Linked DNA regions of Homo sapiens: all the other regions are linked to region 3. The links are contacts of gene promoters, found by promoter capture Hi-C in human tissues and cell types (Jung and others, 2019). All regions are on one chromosome and are shown on one strand. Each heading gives the region's core, a stretch centred on a gene start or on the middle of the fragment in contact. The rest is flanking DNA. Distances are from core to core; before and after follow the strand shown. Region 1 has its middle 220 kb from the start of PCDH17. Region 2 has its middle 230 kb from the start of PCDH17. Region 3 holds the start of PCDH17 (protocadherin 17).

Evidence for each region. Contacts are between HindIII fragments. The study calls those that stand out against the background at their distance.
Region 1: a fragment that was not itself captured here is called in contact with the fragment with the promoter of PCDH17 in region 3 in 1 of the 25 tissues and cell types used here (dorsolateral prefrontal cortex).
Region 2: a fragment that was not itself captured here is called in contact with the fragment with the promoter of PCDH17 in region 3 in 1 of the 25 tissues and cell types used here (dorsolateral prefrontal cortex).

What each region holds. Positions count from the first base shown.
Region 1 is chr13:57,846,932-57,851,596 of GRCh38, forward strand. No RefSeq gene overlaps it. Among named protein-coding and RNA genes, the nearest start is that of PCDH17, 220 kb to the left of the region's middle. The HindIII fragment of the contact is 3,298 bases long and covers 1,182-4,479 here.
Region 2 is chr13:57,863,704-57,868,046 of GRCh38, forward strand. No RefSeq gene overlaps it. Among named protein-coding and RNA genes, the nearest start is that of PCDH17, 230 kb to the left of the region's middle. The HindIII fragment of the contact is 4,790 bases long and covers 1-4,343 here.
Region 3 is chr13:57,629,705-57,634,062 of GRCh38, forward strand. PCDH17 (protocadherin 17) reads left to right here and starts at 2,040. Exons shown (of 4, transcript NM_001040429.3): 1 at 2,040-4,358. The coding sequence starts at 2,843. RefSeq lists enhancers at 3-588, 2,547-3,226. The HindIII fragment of the contact is 5,195 bases long and covers 1-3,158 here.

The DNA.
Region 1 (4,665 bases), core at 1,581-4,080, 220 kb after region 3:
GAGGCCTTGCCCACGTGAGCCTCAGAATCATGATGGGAGGTGAAAGGTACTTCTTACATCATGGCAGCAAGAGAAAATGAGGAAGAAGCAAAAACAGGAACTCCTGATAAACCCATCAGATCTCATGAGACTTATTCACTATCACGAGAATAGCACAGGAAGGACCAACCACCATGATTCAATTACTTCCCCCTCAACATGTGGGGATTCTGGGAGATACAATCAAGTCAAGATTTAAAAGGGGACACAGCCAAACCATATCAAGATGTATAATAAAAAAAAAAAATGAAAGACTGAAATTTGTAAATCTCTTGCATTTCCCTCTTATGAGTTTTGAAATAATTTTGCATATTCAAATTATTTGAGGGGCATAAATGGTCAATTACATTTGGAGAAAATAATTGCCTTGGGAAGTGAATATGTTTTTGACTGTTTCACCTTGCTTCTAAGGTGTGATGCATTCTAGATACAATTTTTTTTAGTAATTTTAATTATGAAGATGGATGCTACACTTGCTTTGATAAAATTACTCTGAAATCTACAGTAACAAAAATGCATAACTGAAGAGATTACTTATCCCACAAAGGAATTAAAAAAACTTTAAAAATGCATTTCCTGGCATTATTTGAAAATACAGAAGAAATTCTAAGATATTCTGGACCACATCTGCCCCATTATGCCAAACGCTTCATGGAGAGTCCATTAGAATAATCATTTAACACCTGTATCACTGTCTTCTCATAGTGCAACCTGTAATCAAAGTGTGAAGCAATCACCACAGAAGTTATAATTTAGATTATGACTTAATAGCACTGGTTCTAAAGGACTAGATTTGAGTATTTGGAATTTCACTAACCACTGATTGCAGTAAGTGGGCACAATTGAATCAATATCAAAAAGGCTATCCCTTCCCTTCTGAGGCAGTGGTGATGTCTGAGCTTGACTGAACTGGTTTTTATGTGTGAAATGCTTTGCAAACTGGTGGTATCTGCTGTAATAAGAACATACTCTTGTGTAGCTTATGTTCTAGACTTTTTCTGATAATCCTTCCTTTATTAGCTGTTTTTGTCAATGATCAGTTGTACACCCTCAATCAATCTTACCTACATTTTAAAAAACCATTTTAAGCATAGTGGCCAATATTTTCCAGCTTTTACAAAGTAAATCACACATAAATTTGTGTTAAATCTAGTAAAGCTATTATGATAAAATTTTCAGTTGAAATAATTACTGGGGAATTCAAATGAAAGTTTCTCTTGGCTTCACACAAGTTTATATTTTGTAATTTAAAAAATGGAGAATACTAGGAAACCAAGGCCATCAAATTTATTCTTCCAGCCTTTCAACAGTCTTGGCTTACCTAAGCAACTAAGGGAAGGGAAATAAGGAATAAAGAGTCACAAAGAAAACACACATGATTACTGTAATACAATGTTTTGAGACACGTCAAAATATATGCAAACATATTTTTAGGTAATTGAAGGAAGAAAAGCTATTACATTTGCTAATTTTTTTCAAAAAAAATGTTTATTTTTTCTTTATTGAAGAGGCCATCTTCCTGAATTTGTTATATTTATCAGTAAAATTGTGCTCTACTCTATGTCATTTCTGAAAGAACCCTAGGGGAGCTTACCCAATCACTACCAATTGGTAGTTAACTTGTGGGGATTACAAACATAACTATCAAAATCCAATAAGCCTGTTAGAAGGAATTTTTATTAGAATTCCTACATTGCCACTTGTATGATATTTGGTCTTGTATGATATTTGGTTTATTTCATGTTCAGTTATCTTATGTGTAAAGCAGGAAAAATAACATTGTGCGATTTTTATAAGGATTAAGGAACATGTGTGCAATGTTTAGTGTTGTGGATATAACAGGGTAAGTGCCAAATAAAAGGTAGCTAATACCTAATATTGTAATTTTTTGGGGGTATATGTATGTATCAAATTGGAGAACTCTGGGCTTGCTTAGGCTGTTACTTTTTCAATTTATTAATTATTCTCCTTTTTGGCAAACTTTTGAGCATTTAGGCTACTAGTACTGCTGACATACTCAAATTATTGCTACTGTGCTGCAGAAATTTTACCCAGGATGAGGAAGTCTGTCCCAAATCTGGCCAAAAATCCATAAAATGTTTTTTTCCTTTAGTTATATGTCCTAGAAAATTAAAAGTGCTACCTGCACACCTCAGAGATAGTGTGGCTTCATTTCTAGTCCAACACAATAAAATAATTCACACAATTTTTTTTGTTTCCCCATAAATAAAAAAGTTATGTTTACACTCTACTATTGTCTATTAAGTGTGCAATAGCATTATCTAAAAACAATGTACATACCTTAATTAAAAATACTTTATTGCTAAAATATGCTAGTGATCTTCTGAACCTTCACTCAGTCCTAGTCTTTTTGCTGGTGGAGGGTCTTGCCTTTAAATTGAGGCTGCTGACTGATAAGGGTGGTGAGTGGTGTATATTGGGTTGGCTGTGGCAATTTCATAAACTAAGGCAACAGTGAAGTTTGCTGTATCAATTGACTCTTCCTTTCACAAAAGATATCTCTGTAGGATGCAATGCTCTTTGATAGCATTTCACCCACAGTAAAGCTTCTTTCAAATTAAGACTCAATTCTTTCAAATCCTGCTGCTGCTTTATGAGCTAAATTTATATAATATTCTCCATTCTTTGTTGCCATTTCAACAATGTTCCCAGCATCTTCACCAAGAGTAGACTACATCTCAAAAAAACACTGTCTTTGCCTATCCATAAGAAGTAAGTTCTCCTCCATTAAAGTTGTATCATGAGATTGCAGTAATTCAGTCACAACTTCAAGCTCCATCCACTTCTAGCTCTATTAATAGTTCTCTTGCTATTTCTACCACATCTACAGTTACTTACTTCAATAAAGTCTTGAACCTCTCAAAGTCATCCACAAGAGCTAGAGTAAACTTCTTCCAAATCTCTGTTAATATGGATATTTTGACCTCTTCTCATGAATTATAGATATTCTTAATGATCAAAAATAGTGAATCCTTTTGAAAAGGTTTTCAACTTACCTTGCCCAGATTTATCAGAGGAATCACTATCCATGTCAGCTATAGCCTTACAAAATGTAGTTCTTAAATAATAAGACTTGAAATTACTCCTTGATCCATGGGCTGCAGAATGGATGTTATGTTAGCAGGATGTATCTTTGTACATCTCCATCAGAGGTCTTCAGTGATATGGTGAATCTTCAATGAGCATTAACGTTTTCAAATAATATTTTTTTCTGAGAAGTAGGTCCCAACAGCAGGCTTGTAACACTCAGTAAACCATGCTATAAACAGATAGCTGTCATCCTGGTTTTGTTGTTCCATTTATAGATTACAGGAAGAGTAGATTTATTATAATTCTTAAGGGTCCTAGAATTTTTGGAATGGTAAGTCAGCATTAGCTTTAATTGAAAGTCACCAGGTGCATTAGGGACAACAAGAGAGTCAACCTGTCCCTTGAAGCTTTGAAATATTATCTCTAGCTATCAAGGTCCTAGATGGTATCTTCTTCCAATACAATGCTGTTTTATCTACATTGAAAAATTTGTTGTTTAGTGTAGCCACCTTCATCAGTTATCTTAAGTAGATCTTCTGGACACTATTCTGCAACTTCTATATTAGCACTAGCTGCCTCACCTTGCACTTTAATGTTATGGTACAAGTTCTTTCCCTAAACCTTATGGACCAACTTCTGCTAGCTTCACATTTTTCTCTCGCAGCTTCCACACCTCTCTCAGTCTTCATAAAATTAAAGAGTTAAGGCCTCACTTTGAATTACGCTTTGATTTAAGGGAATATTGTGGCCAGTTTGATCTATCCAGACAATTAGAGCTTTCTATATCAGCAATAAGGCTGTTTCACTTTCTCATCGTTCTTATATTCACTGGACTAGTACTTTTAATTTCCTTTAAGAACTTTGCATTCACAACTTGGCTAACTGATTGGTGCAAGAGTCCTAGCTTTCAGCCTATCTCAGCTTGAGTCATGACTTCCTCAGCAAGCTTAATCTAGTTTTTGATTTAAAATGAAAGATGTGCAATTCTTCCTTGCACTTGACCACTTAGAGGCCATCATAGGCATATTAATTGGCCTTATTTTAATATTCCTGTGACTCATGGAATAGGGAGGCCCAAAGAGAGAGAGAGAAAGATGGGAAGCAGCCAGTCGGTGGAACAGTCAGAACACACATAACATTTATTGATTAATTTTGCTGTCTTATAGAGGTGAGGTTCATGGAGCACCCAAACAATTACAGTAGCAACATCCAAGCTCACCCATCATAGGTTACCATAATAAATATTAATGAAAAAGTTTAAAGTATTATGAGAATTACCAAAATGGGACACAGAGACTACAAAGTGAGCATATGCTGTTGGAAAAATGGTGCAGACAGGCTTGCTCTACACAGAGTTGCCAGAAATCTTCAATTCATAAAAAATTCAGTATCTTTGAAGTGGAATAAAGGGAAGTACAATAAAATGAGGTATGCCTGTAAACTGCTGCAATATACATATTCAGCAATTTTTGCCCAGTTTCATTCTTCTTTTTTACACTCATAGAGATAGAAAAAGTTGAAAAAAGTTCAGAGTTCTCACTTTGACTTCACTTAGAAAAAACAGTGCTTCTTCAT
Region 2 (4,343 bases), core at 896-3,395, 230 kb after region 3:
ATATATGGTTGTTTGGACATTGTAGTGAAGGCTTCTTACAGCTGCCCTGAGTGTTTATTGTCAGCTGTGAATTAATCTGCTGTTATAATGTGACATGTTCAGTAAAATGATGCAGATCATTTGCTTGTTTAGGGTCTCTGCTAAAACAATATAAGATAAATAAAAATAATTCTTCCCATTCCAAGATGTTCCTAAACCTTGCGAGTATCCAAATAAATAAAGTATTGACTGAAATCCCACTTAACTACATACTATCATGATATTTAACATTTGTCAAAGCTTATTGTAAAACCAGTTTTTTCACAGGATGGTGGATTAGAGGCTTTTAGTGTGCCTCAGCCACCTGGAAATTGCAAAATAGTGCATGAAGATGAACCCTGAGTTTTCATTCAAGAAGGAAAATGGGAAGCCACCAGAATTGTGAAGGATACCCCAGACCCCAGGGAGTAGAGCAATAGCACCCAGCCCCCATGACAATGTCTGGCTGATAAAAGTGAGTGGAAGCCCAGTACATGAGAGAGGCAGGGAGCCTCCCTCTGTGCTCACCTTTTCACTGGGGACCCAAGCAACTCAGGGGAGAGCACTTTGTTTCTCCGAAACCATGGAGCTAACTTGAAGAGAGGCTTGTAGATACTGTGAGGGAAAAACAAGGGGAAAAGCTGAAGAGTTTTTCCCTGACCTGGGACTGAGCAGGACATCCTGTTAAATTTGAGTGCATGCAATGTCAGTCATTCTTGGTGATCCAACAATGTGGCTACTCAGGCATTTTAGTCACCAGCCAGAGATTGAACCACCTGCTCTGGAGTGGGGTAGGGGCCTCTACAGCCAGAATTGTGGAAAGTGCCTCAGCAGTAGGTGGGGAGGGAGGAGAGCTGCTACAGCTACAGTTTCTCCTGGGTGCCAAGACTAGGAGCAAGGGGCCAGCTTGCTGACCCAGAACCAGCTGGTGTGGTGTGTGCCATTGTTGCGTGTCCCAGCCTGCTCCTCTGAGATTGTGGTGCATCAGAACCCTTTCTGCTCTATCCCCAGGCAGACATCCAAACATTTGGAGCACTTGCTTGACTAGATCACCATCCAGAGCTGCTCTAACCTTCCTGGGCATAGATCATAGTACAGTGGGGTTCTCTCTGCTCTATACTCAGGCATATCTCCAGGCATTCAGAGCACCTACTCAACTGGATCAGCAGCCTGACCTGCTCCATCCTTCCTGTGCAGAGATCCTGGTACAGGGAGGTCCTCTCTGCTTTGCACCCAGGAAGATCCCAGGCGTTTGCCTGGAACAGAAGCCCAAGTCACCCCACCCTTCCTATGTAGAGATTCTGCTGTGGGGCGGGTGGTGGGGGGGCTCTCTGCTACACACCCAGGCAGATTTCCAGGCATTCAGAGAACCTGCTTGCTGGGTTCAGCAGCCTGAGTCACCCTACCCTCCTGTGCAGAGATCTTGGGGCAGAGGCCCCTCTCTGATCCCTAGGTAGATCTCCAGGTCTCTTGAGCAACTACTCTTCTGGATTAGGAGTTCAGGCCAACCCCATATTCCCATGCAGATAATTTAGGGCCAATGGGGGTTTTCAAGCTCCATGCCTAGGCACACCTTTGGGCACCTGGTGGCCACCCACTGGATTCTCCCTTAGTGCTGGTGCTCGTTTGCCACCTGATGAACTCTAGGTGGAGAGGATCTGCCCAGTCTGGCCCCACTCATTATAGCCTTGCCCCCACTCCCTCACCCAGGGCTGAGCAAGGAGCTCAGACCACTGTGCACTCCACAGATCAGCCCCTTGTCTGCAGCAACCAAAAGCTTCTCCTTGTAAACAAGGATCTAGAATATACCATTGCAGTGCAGCTGGCTCTTATCTGTAAGCACTAGCTACTGGCTTGTAAGTCTAACTGCTCAGCCCAATATAAACCTGCCAAAAGACATGCATAGGGCTATAGTGTTGCAGAAATCAGGAGACTGGAGAGACAAGCGTTGGGGAACAGGAGGATTTTATTTAGGTGGCCACTGGTTCAGCAGATTAATATCCAAAGGCTGGGCATTGAACAAAGACAGGGGTTGACTTTTGTACATACAGCTAAAGAGGGTTGGCCATCTAGTGACTCGAAACCCGCAGGGCAGGTAAGCGAGCTTACAGAAGCAGAACAAAGGCAGTTAATCATACTGTGACAGGTTTTGCAACAGGCTTTGCAACATGAGCTTATCTCACTTAAACATGTCTTGTGACTTTGCCATGCTACAGAAAGAAAAACAGGAACTTATAAAAACTTTTACAAACTTGCAGAAACAGTTACAAAAGTAGTTATGAGAGCAGAGCAAAGAATGATAGTATGGGGAGAGATTTCCAAAGGGGGAAACTGATAAGGAGAACTTGCTTTTCCCATCCTTGTACCTGGAGTCTATTCCTTTGGGTCCCCTGCCTGGCCTTGCAGATAATGTTATCATAGCTCTAGCAGGACTTTGGAGTGAGTCAGCCTGGTCAAGGCTGTTTTCCCTTTGCTTGTTTTTCTTTTTATATTTCCTGCTTCAATAGAGGCAAAACAAAAATACCCTACCCAGCATTCTCTACAGCCACAACATCTGGTGGGTAGGAGGAAGAGCAAGGAAAAGAAAAAATAATAATATAGAAAATGAAAGAAAATTAAAAACTCCTAACTGCATAAAAATAATTATAAAATTAGAAGTGCAAGTATCTCAAGATAAGACAGAACCAGCATAAGAATTCTGACACCATGAGAAATCTGAATGTATTGTCACCACAAAATTTCACTAGTTCTCCAGCAATGGTGTTTAAACAAAATGGAAACTCAGAAATTACAGATAAAGAATTCAAAGCATGGACTGCAGGTAAGCACAATGAGATTCAAGACAAGGTTGAAAATCAAAACAAAGAAACTTCCAAAGCAATCCAGGAAATAAAGAAGACATAAACATCTCAAAAAGAAAACAATTGGAGCTTCTGGAATTTGAAAGCTCACTTAAGGAATTTCTTTCTCTTTTTGAGACAGGGTCTGGCTCTGTCACTCAGGCTGGAATTTCGTGGCATGATTTGGCTCACTGCAACCTTTGCCTTCTGCATTCAAGCCAACCTTCCACCTCAGCCTCCCAAGTAGCTGGGACTACAGGTGTGTGTCACCATGCCCAGCTAATTTTTTTCGTATTTTTTGTGGAGATGGGGTTTTGTCATGTTTCCCAGGTTGGTCTCCAACTTGTGAGCCCAATCTGTCTGCCTGCCTTGGCCTCCCAAATACTGGGATTACAGATGTTAACCACTGTGCCCAGCCTAGGAATTTAAAAATACAATTGAAAGCTTTATCAATATAACTGACCAAGCAGAAGAAAAAATTTCAGAGCTTGAAGACCAGTCTCTTGAACTAACTCAGTCAGATAAAAATAAAGAAAAAAAGAATTTAAAAAAATGAATAAATCTTCAAGATATATGGCCTTATGTAAAGTGACCAAACCTAGAATTTCTAACAGGCATTCCTGTTAGAAAAGGAGAAAATGTAAACAATCTGGAAAACATATTTGAGGAAATAATGAATAAAATTTTCCCGATCTTGCTAAAGAGGTAGACATCCAGAAACAAGAAATCCAGAGAACATCTGTGAGTTGCTATTCAAAATGAGCATCACCAAGACATATCGTCACCCAACTGTCTAAGGTCAACACTGAACAAAAAATCTTAAAGGCAGCTAGAGAGAAAAGTCTGATCATGGTCAAAGAGATCTCAATCAGTCTAACAGTGAACTTCTAGCAGAAATCTTGCAAGCCAGGAAAGATTGAGGTACTATTTTGAGGATTCTTAATTAAAAAAAAAAGAAATTCTATACAAGAATTTCATGTCCCACCAACTGAGCTCCATAAGCAAATGAGAAATAAAATATTTTCCAGAGAAGGAAGTGCTAAGGGAATTTGTTACCACTAGACCTGTATTATAAGAGATGCTTAAGGAAGTTCTAAACATGGAAATGAAAGACCAATACCAGCTACCATGAAACACACTTAAATACATAGTTCACATATCCTATAAAGCAGTGGTACCCAACCTTTTTGGCATCAGGGACTAGTTTTGTGGAAGACAGTTTTTTCATGGACTGAGGTGGGTGGATGGTTTTGGGATGATTCAAGTATATTACATTTATTGTGAACTTTACTTCTATTATTATTACACTATAATATACAGAAATAATTATAGAACTCATTATAATGCACAATCAATGGGAGCCCTGAGCATGTTTTCCTGCAAGTAGATGGTCCCGTCTGGGGACAATGGGAGACAGTGACAGATCATCAGGCATTAGATTTTCATTAGGAGCACACAACCTAGATCCCTCACATGTACATTTCA
Region 3 (4,358 bases), core at 790-3,289:
GCAGCTACGTTATTCTGCAAGCATACTGCGATTCCCGATTCCGTGTATGTAGGACCACAAAAAAATTAAATCGCTGTTAAACTTTTTTTTGTAAATTCTCTTTTCCGAAGGAAGGCGCTGGAAGAGCTACTCCCGGTGGTTAAAGGCCCGGGAGACCTGGTGGCGAATCCTGGGGCGCGTCCGCTTTGGCGGAGCGCTGGGCTCCGCTAGCCGGACTGGTTCCCCATCTAACTGATCTAATCAATGACTCCGAAGAGCCGGGGCTCCTGGCCCCGCCCCCGCCATCCTCTTCTCCGCCTCCCATTGGACGCGGGCCGAGAAGGCAGGGCCTTGCTCCTCGCTCGGATTGGCTGACAGGGAATCAGTATCAATGTTTAAGCGGCGGCGTGAGGTGAATAGAGTCAGTCAGCAAGAGACGCTGGGGAGAGAGCAGGGATCGCGAGCCCGGCGGATGCGGCAGCGGCGGAAGGCGGCTGGGGAGACGCTACTCCAACTGTTGAATTGAATTTTCACCTTTCCTTTCATCCGCTGCTTTGCTTGCGGAGATGGATTTATTTGCTTTGAAATCCGCATATCTTTCTCAGACTGTGGGGTGATCCCGGCAGACACCAGACTGAAAGAGACCACCCGTGACAGAAAAGGAGGAATTAAAAAAAAAAAAAACCTCCACAACAGACTGCACAATTAACTGTACACATCGATGTTGGACTTTGTGAATAGAAAAAATTGAGAGGAAAATCTTGAACTATGATGCGAGGCTAAGCTGGGAACAATTACTGGAAACCTGATTTTGTTTTTCCTTTTCCAAGACTCTGAAAAATTTCGGGGTACCTCTCGCCTAACCAAGAGGAAAGGTTTAAAAAAAATAAACAAAATAAATAAACCAATACACCTAGCAAAGCAGACGCCTTGTTTTCCAGAACCTCGGACTCCGGCAGAAAGAGGTAGAGTAAAAGTGCTGCTAGATTCAGCTTCACCTTCTTCCCTCCATCCTTTTCTCTTGCATTTTCTTTTTCCCCAAAAACATGAATCTGGTTTTTCTTTCTATAGACTGAGTCAGAGAAAGCGTTAGGAAGAAGCCGCAACTAATGTCTGTGAAGGGAGGACCATGAGGCGAGAGTGAATACGATTCGTTCCGCTGCTTCTGACTCATCCGGCAGATCGGAACACCTGCATTTCTGGATGTGTCATTCCCGTATGTCGAGGCGCCTCCAGAACCCGAAATAATGTGTAGACAGACCTGTGTCTAACATCCCCTCGGAGGGAGCTCCCCGGGGTAGGAGCCCCTGGCTGGACCGCCGCGGCCGCAGCTCTGCACCCCCTGCCCTCCCTGAGTCGCCCAGAAAAACTGAAAGAGAGACTGCAGAATGCATCACGCCAAACCTTGATGTGTTGCTTTCATCCAGCCCACTCCTCCTACTATAAGAGAAAATTGAAGGAAAAAAAAAAACACGTACTTTATTTGCTTCAAATATTCATCACTTTTATTCCTCGCCAAGGTTTTCTTTTCTAGATGAAGAGGACTGGGAGGCAGGGCTATTGGAAGGAGATGCTGAATAGAAAGAAAAGAGGCACTTGACAGCCCAGCCCTGTGAATGCAGAGACTGTTTCCCTTCTAGCGAGAGACAGGGAGAGTGTGTGTGCAAGGACTGGGAGGGAGGCTCCCCCTTCCTTTTTATTCGGCCTCCCCCCTCCTCCTTTAAATGTGCACGTCCAACCATGAGTTGCCTGTTGATTTCCCTTCGCCTGGGAAGAAAAGCAAACTGGAATTAAACTGCTTGGAGAGAAGTCCTTGCTCGCGGGGAGAGGATGGGATGGTAGCGGAGGCTACTGGCTTGGCGTAGAGAAATCAGAGAGTGTGTTCTACGAACAGAGGCGAAGATTTATCTCTCTACTTCCCCCCTCCCAATAGACTCACACAGCAAATGCTGATCAGGCTGTGGCTTTCTTGATTTCGGGGGAGAGCCTTTTCCGAGGAAGAGAGGGAGGAGCCTGGTGGGGAGAGGAAACTACAAATCGGGACACTAGTTCTTTACGCTGCATTTCCTCCCCTCCCTTTGGCTGCTCGGAAAGGAGAGAGAGGAAAAAAAAAATACGCTTGGCTGGTAGATGCAGTCCGCCGCCGCCGCTGCCTCAGCCAGCAATGCAAGATTAGATCTCTAAATGCAGCAAAACACTGCCTGAAAACAGACCGGCCCGCGCAGCAAGCAGACATTTCACGGTGCGCTGGGGAAGCTTCAAAATATATCTGTGACTCTGTCTTCGTTGCTCTTCATCCCCATCAATTTCATCACGGGAGGCGAGCAGCAAGTAAGAATTTCACTTTCGGATCTGCCTAGAGACACACCTCCCTGCTCCCTCCCCCACTCGATGTGAAGAGTATTCCGGAGTCTCCGGGCGGGAGTAGATTTGCAGCACCCTAGCGGGAGCGAGGAAAACCTACTGATTCTTTAGCTCATTATCATCTCTCCCAGACGAGATTTCCTTCTTATCGCCTGCCTCATCGCTCAAGTTTGAGCCTCCCGAAGTCCGGGCGGGAGAGACGAAACCCCTGGCTCACCCCCAGCCGCAGGAAGCCACCGCCTTGCTCCAAGCCCCTGCAGCTCTGCTGCACCGCAGCTTCTCACCCAGTGCGGATGCTGTAGATCAACAGGTTCAGGGAACTTGAGCAGAATAAGGAGAGACCACCGGGTGCCGCAGCTCGGGTGCAGAGGGAAAAAAGGACCCATAGACTTGTGGCTCGCGTCGCGCGCGCACGCTGCGCCAGGGCCCCAGGCTGGCGCGCACTCCCTCTCTGGCTCCTCCAGTCCGATTGCTCCTGCCCCCACCTTACAGGTCTGGGATGTACCTTTCCATCTGTTGCTGCTTTCTTCTATGGGCCCCTGCCCTCACTCTCAAGAACCTCAACTACTCCGTGCCGGAGGAGCAAGGGGCCGGCACGGTGATCGGGAACATCGGCAGGGATGCTCGACTGCAGCCTGGGCTTCCGCCTGCAGAGCGCGGCGGCGGAGGGCGCAGCAAGTCGGGTAGCTACCGGGTGCTGGAGAACTCCGCACCGCACCTGCTGGACGTGGACGCAGACAGCGGGCTCCTCTACACCAAGCAGCGCATCGACCGCGAGTCCCTGTGCCGCCACAATGCCAAGTGCCAGCTGTCCCTCGAGGTGTTCGCCAACGACAAGGAGATCTGCATGATCAAGGTAGAGATCCAGGACATCAACGACAACGCGCCCTCCTTCTCCTCGGACCAGATCGAAATGGACATCTCGGAGAACGCTGCTCCGGGCACCCGCTTCCCCCTCACCAGCGCACATGACCCCGACGCCGGCGAGAATGGGCTCCGCACCTACCTGCTCACGCGCGACGATCACGGCCTCTTTGGACTGGACGTTAAGTCCCGCGGCGACGGCACCAAGTTCCCAGAACTGGTCATCCAGAAGGCTCTGGACCGCGAGCAACAGAATCACCATACGCTCGTGCTGACTGCCCTGGACGGTGGCGAGCCTCCACGTTCCGCCACCGTACAGATCAACGTGAAGGTGATTGACTCCAACGACAACAGCCCGGTCTTCGAGGCGCCATCCTACTTGGTGGAACTGCCCGAGAACGCTCCGCTGGGTACAGTGGTCATCGATCTGAACGCCACCGACGCCGATGAAGGTCCCAATGGTGAAGTGCTCTACTCTTTCAGCAGCTACGTGCCTGACCGCGTGCGGGAGCTCTTCTCCATCGACCCCAAGACCGGCCTAATCCGTGTGAAGGGCAATCTGGACTATGAGGAAAACGGGATGCTGGAGATTGACGTGCAGGCCCGAGACCTGGGGCCTAACCCTATCCCAGCCCACTGCAAAGTCACGGTCAAGCTCATCGACCGCAACGACAATGCGCCGTCCATCGGTTTCGTCTCCGTGCGCCAGGGGGCGCTGAGCGAGGCCGCCCCTCCCGGCACCGTCATCGCCCTGGTGCGGGTCACTGACCGGGACTCTGGCAAGAACGGACAGCTGCAGTGTCGGGTCCTAGGCGGAGGAGGGACGGGCGGCGGCGGGGGCCTGGGCGGGCCCGGGGGTTCCGTCCCCTTCAAGCTTGAGGAGAACTACGACAACTTCTACACGGTGGTGACTGACCGCCCGCTGGACCGCGAGACACAAGACGAGTACAACGTGACCATCGTGGCGCGGGACGGGGGCTCTCCTCCCCTCAACTCCACCAAGTCGTTCGCGATCAAGATTCTAGACGAGAACGACAACCCGCCTCGGTTCACCAAAGGGCTCTACGTGCTTCAGGTGCACGAGAACAACATCCCGGGAGAGTACCTGGGCTCTGTGCTCGCCCAGGATCCCGACCTGGGCCAGAACGGCA